2 separate regions of the Homo sapiens genome follow, and region 1 is linked to region 2. Evidence: promoter capture Hi-C in human tissues and cell types (Jung and others, 2019). All regions are on one chromosome and are shown on one strand. Each heading gives the region's core, a stretch centred on a gene start or on the middle of the fragment in contact. The rest is flanking DNA. Distances are from core to core; before and after follow the strand shown. Region 1 overlaps DHX37 (DEAH-box helicase 37). Region 2 holds the start of UBC (ubiquitin C).

Region 1 (2,700 bases), core at 188-2,687, 52 kb after region 2:
CAACATGGCAAATGTTTGAGGCCTCCTCGTGCCAGGCAGTTTCAAGAACTCAGGAAGCATCGGGGACAAAGCTGCTAGAACCCCGGCCCCCGGGGGGCCCACAAGGGCTCTGGGCACATCCTCAGGGCAGAGATAATGAACATGAGCAGGAATCGGTGCTCGGGCCACACCTCCATCTTGCCCGCCATCCCCCAGGTCCAGATCGAGGTCGGAGTCCAGGGCCCCCTCTTCCTCATCCACTTCTGCCTCCCTGTCCTCATCGCCTTCGCCTGCCGGTAACACCGAGTAATGATCCAAGTTGATCTGGGGCAGCACCTACGGCGAACAAGACATAGACACCTGGGCTGCAGGGATCCTGGGTGTGAGGACGTGGCACGTGCAGGAAGACAGGTGCCCTCGCATGGAAGCCCCGGTCCACACCCATGGGCCATGCAACCCGGGGCAGGCCACATAATTCTCTCTTCCTGCCAGAATTTCCCCACCTAAACATTGGGGACTATCATAGACCTTGTCTCCCAGGCTGGTGGGAGGGTTGTGTGAACACACGTGAGGAACCTGGATCGCTGCCTGACACATCGGTAGTGCAACAGGCAAGTCAGAGACGGCTGAGTGCTTACGCTACCGTCACGGAGCACAAGACCCACGGTGCCTTCACGCAGAGGCTAGAGGAAAGCCCCTGCCAGCCCAGCCATCCCAGAGTAGCTGGGAGTACAGGTGCACACCACCATGCCTGGCTAATTTTGTATTTTTAGTAGAGACAGGGTTTCGCCATGTTGGTCAGGTTGGACTTGAACTCCTGACCTCAGGTGATCCACCTGCCTCAGTCTCCCAAAGTGCTGGGATTACAGGCGTAGCCACCACGCCTGGCCTTCTTTTCCATTTCTGAGACAGAGTCTCACTCTGTTGCCCAGGCTAGAGTGCAGTGGGACCATCACAGCTCATTGCAGCCTTGACCTCCTGGGCTCAGATGGTTCTCCCACCTCAGCCTCTGAGCAGCTGGGACCACAGGCATGCGCCACTGCACTGGATTAATCTAAAAAATTTTTTGTAGAGACATGGTCTCACCATGTTGCCCAAGCTGGTCTCAAACTCTAGGCCTCAAGCGATCCTCCCACCTTGGCCTCCCAAAGTGCTGGAATTACAGGCATGAGCCACTGTGCCTGACCAGGAACTGGATTTTTAACTTCATTTTATTCCAATTACACTTAAACCTAAGCAGCCACATGGGGCTGGTAGCTGCCATCCTGGACAACGCAGCCTTACTCTCCAGGAGTCCCTGCCAGCCCCCCACGTACCTCAGCCCGCGCCTTCTTGGCCCTGGCCCTTGACTTCTTAAACTTCCGCATTTCCTCCACCGAGTCTTTCTGATCGTCGTCCTTTTCTGGGAGAGGGGCAGGTTGGGGAGAAAGGCGTCTGTGGCCGGCGTGGTCGCCAGCACACTGCCCTTTGTTGTTCAAGGCATGGCCACTCAGTGGTGGCCATTTATTCGGGGGTGAGGTGGGGGATGGCAAAGGTGCTGATGCTTCCAGAGAGAAGCTCAGAGGCAGGAGCTGCACCCCAGCCAGGGAGCGCGAGGCCAAGCCCAGCTGCTCAGGGCAGAGTGCTGGTCGGGGCGTCCTCTTTACCTTGTGGCCGGGCTCTGGAGGGTGGGAAAGCCTTCCTGAGCCTGCGGCACAGCGCATGCACCTCAGCCTGCCCCGTCAGGAACACCAGGATGCCACCTGTGGAAAGAATGGGCCCCTCTGTTATCCATCAGTCACTCACAAACATTTGCTTAGCAAAAGCACCTGCCAAGCCATGCTCTGAGAGGCAAGGTTCCAGGGATAATGGGGGAGGACAGGAGTACACAGACATAGATGAGCAGGGGGCAGCACGCCCAGACTGAAGCAGCTGCCGCCAGGGAGTTCAACAAACACGGCGACTGCACAGCCCAGCAGCATCACTCCCAGGAACAGACCCAAAAGCCCTGAGAAGCGTGCTCACACGGAACCCTGCACACCACACTCACGACAGTGACAGCGCCGCGGCTGCCCTGAGACCTGAGGCTGCAGGAAGGCTCACTGCCCAAGCTCCAGCCTCACCTCCTGCCAGCCCCAGTCTCCCAGAGAATGGATGGGAGCCCCGAAAGGCCATAAGCAGAGCAAGGACAGAGCATCACGAAGCAGCAACCTCGGCTTCCTTGAAGGACGAGGTCAAGCTTGTTGGGAAGCACCCCCATGGCTCCTTGCCTCCCTAACATGAAGAAAGCCAGCCTTGGGCCCAAATTCGGCACACAAGAGTCTCTGGCTAGGCTGGGTGCAGTGGCTCACACTTGTAATTCCAGCACTTTGGGAGGCTGAGGCAGGCAGCTCACCTGAGGTCAGGAGTTCGAGACCAGCCCGGCCAACATGATGAAACCCCATCTCTACTAAAATACAAAAAATTAGCCAGGCGTGGCAGTGTGCGACCAGTGTGGGACCTGTAATCCCAGCTACTTGGGAGGCTGAGGCAGGAGAATCACTTGAACCCGGGAGGTGGAGGTTGCAGTGAGCCAAGATCTGCCACTGCACTCCAGCCTGGGCAACAAGAGTAAAACTCCGTCTCAAAAAAAAAAAGTCTGGCTGGAAGCGATCACAATCTATTCACACAGAAAGGTCACATCCATTTCAGTAACATGAGGTGGGTAACGGAGCAGGTATGATGGGGACAAGGCAGAACTGT
Region 2 (2,700 bases), core at 1-2,500:
CTTTCCGGCAAAGATCAACCTCTGCTGGTCAGGAGGAATGCCTTCCTTGTCCTGGATCTTTGCTTTGACGTTCTCGATGGTGTCACTGGGCTCGACCTCAAGGGTGATGGTCTTGCCAGTGAGTGTCTTCACGAAGATTTGCATCCCACCTCTGAGACGGAGCACCAGGTGCAGGGTGGACTCTTTCTGGATGTTGTAGTCAGACAGGGTGCGCCCATCTTCCAGCTGTTTTCCAGCAAAGATCAGCCTCTGCTGGTCAGGAGGGATGCCTTCCTTATCTTGGATCTTTGCCTTGACATTCTCGATGGTGTCACTGGGCTCAACCTCGAGGGTGATGGTCTTACCAGTCAGAGTCTTCACGAAGATCTGCATTGTCTAACAAAAAAGCCAAAAACGGCCAGAATTTAGCGGACAATTTACTAGTCTAACACTGAAAATTACATATTGACCCAAATGATTACATTTCAAAAGGTGCCTAAAAAACTTCACAAAACACACTCGCCAACCCCGAGCGCATAGTTCAAAACCGGAGCTTCAGCTACTTAAGAAGATAGGTACATAAAACCGACCAGAGAAACTGACGCCTCACTTATCCCTCCCCTCACCAGAGGTCCGGCGCCTGTCGATTCAGGAGAGCCTACCCTAGGCCCGAACCCTGCGTCCTGCGACGGAGAAAAGCCTACCGCACACCTACCGGCAGGTGGCCCCACCCTGCATTATAAGCCAACAGAACGGGTGACGTCACGACACGACGAGGGCGCGCGCTCCCAAAGGTACGGGTGCACTGCCCAACGGCACCGCCATAACTGCCGCCCCCGCAACAGACGACAAACCGAGTTCTCCAGTCAGTGACAAACTTCACGTCAGGGTCCCCAGATGGTGCCCCAGCCCATCTCACCCGAATAAGAGCTTTCCCGCATTAGCGAAGGCCTCAAGACCTTGGGTTCTTGCCGCCCACCATGCCCCCCACCTTGTTTCAACGACCTCACAGCCCGCCTCACAAGCGTCTTCCATTCAAGACTCGGGAACAGCCGCCATTTTGCTGCGCTCCCCCCAACCCCCAGTTCAGGGCAACCTTGCTCGCGGACCCAGACTACAGCCCTTGGCGGTCTCTCCACACGCCTCCGTCCCACCGAGCGGCCCGGCGGCCACGAAAGCCCCGGCCAGCCCAGCAGCCCGCTACTCACCAAGTGACGATCACAGCGATCCACAAACAAGAACTGCGACCCAAATCCCGGCTGCGACGGAACTAGCTGTGCCACACCCGGCGCGTCCTTATATAATCATCGGCGTTCACCGCCCCACGGAGATCCCTCCGCAGAATCGCCGAGAAGGGACTACTTTTCCTCGCCTGTTCCGCTCTCTGGAAAGAAAACCAGTGCCCTAGAGTCACCCAAGTCCCGTCCTAAAATGTCCTTCTGCTGATACTGGGGTTCTAAGGCCGAGTCTTATGAGCAGCGGGCCGCTGTCCTGAGCGTCCGGGCGGAAGGATCAGGACGCTCGCTGCGCCCTTCGTCTGACGTGGCAGCGCTCGCCGTGAGGAGGGGGGCGCCCGCGGGAGGCGCCAAAACCCGGCGCGGAGGCCGCTGCACCGGGAGCGGGTGGGCGGCCCGCGTTCCTTAGCCGCGGCTCCGCGGCCCCTCCCCTCAGCCCCCGCGGTCCCCTCGGGTCGCGAACCCCGCGTTCGGCGGACGTGGGGCACGCAGCGAGCGCCTTCTGCAGAGTCGGGGTCTCCCTCCCCTCCCTCCTGACCCGCCCTGGCCCACCCTGCGAGATGGACGGGTCTTTATTTTTGGGTCACATTTGAGGTAATGACGGGGCTTCCTTTGCTCAGCCCCCTTCAACCTCCCTGAGCCTCCCAGGCCGGTCGCGGGGGGCTCCCGGGGCCGCGGGACAAGGACAATGACTCGGCAGATCTCAGGGCGGGCGTGGCCCTAAAGCTGGGGAACGCTCGAGAACTTTCCAGGGGAGACACTGCAGAGGAGCTGGGTGTCCAGGTTAAATTTGGAAAAAAGAGGCGGAAACCCCACACAGTTTTATTTTAGCTGGAACGCAAGGCTGAGCGAACGACATCCTTCTAGACTGTTCTTCCACCTTCCTGTACATTCTGAGGGCCAGGTATGGAAAGGTCCTACTTGATGCCAACAGGGAGGCATGGAAATTTCTCTGGTTTCAATGGGTACGATTATTGTAAGCAGGATCCATTCAATAATCGGACCCATTTAAACCGGAGATTTTAAAAGACAGGAATAGAATCCCAACCTTATTTCAGTGCAGGGTAGGGTGTCAAATATGAAATGTAATTCTACAGGGCAATTCTATTTTGGTAAAAGAAGTGGGGAGAAAAGCATCACCAGCCAGCTTTTTAAATTTTTACCACAACCTATTTTGTGATCCCTACGTGTCATTTCTTCAGTATATTTTTTAAATGTTTTAAAATATACGAACATGGTGAGATTTTTTAAATGTGTCTTTTTAAAGTGTACAGTGAAAAGTCTCCCTCATGCCCTCAATTTCCCAGCCACTGTTCCTTCTGGACTCTTCTACAAATAGTCCCTGTTTCTACAAATGTATTGGAGGTAGGGAGGCTATTTTGATTTCTACCCTTAAAAGCTTCAAAAAAAAGAGAAAAAGAGGCTACCAACTGAAAAATATTTTGCCATTAGGAAAAGGCTGCATTCTTGTTTTAAGTTATGAACA

The links. The method cuts DNA at HindIII sites, captures the fragments that hold promoters and counts their contacts. A contact is called where the count stands out against the background at its distance.
Region 1: a contact is called between a fragment that was not itself captured here and the fragment with the promoter of UBC in region 2, in 1 of the 25 tissues and cell types used here (IMR-90 fibroblasts).

What each region holds. Positions count from the first base shown.
Region 1 is chr12:124,965,498-124,968,197 of GRCh38, forward strand. DHX37 (DEAH-box helicase 37) reads right to left here. Exons shown (of 27, transcript NM_032656.4): 11 at 1,626-1,721; 12 at 1,296-1,381; 13 at 171-315. Among named protein-coding and RNA genes, the nearest start is that of DHX37, 22 kb to the right of the region's middle. The HindIII fragment of the contact is 4,237 bases long and covers 1-2,700 here.
Region 2 is chr12:124,913,400-124,916,099 of GRCh38, forward strand. It overlaps UBC (ubiquitin C), which reads right to left and starts at 1,251. Exons shown (of 2, transcript NM_021009.7): 1 at 1,188-1,251; 2 at 1-375. The coding sequence starts at 372. It overlaps MIR5188 (microRNA 5188), which reads left to right and starts at 2,148; the gene lies at 2,148-2,260. RefSeq lists enhancers at 548-1,505, 830-1,279, 2,604-2,700 and a silencer at 1,490-1,829. The HindIII fragment of the contact is 8,951 bases long and covers 1-2,700 here.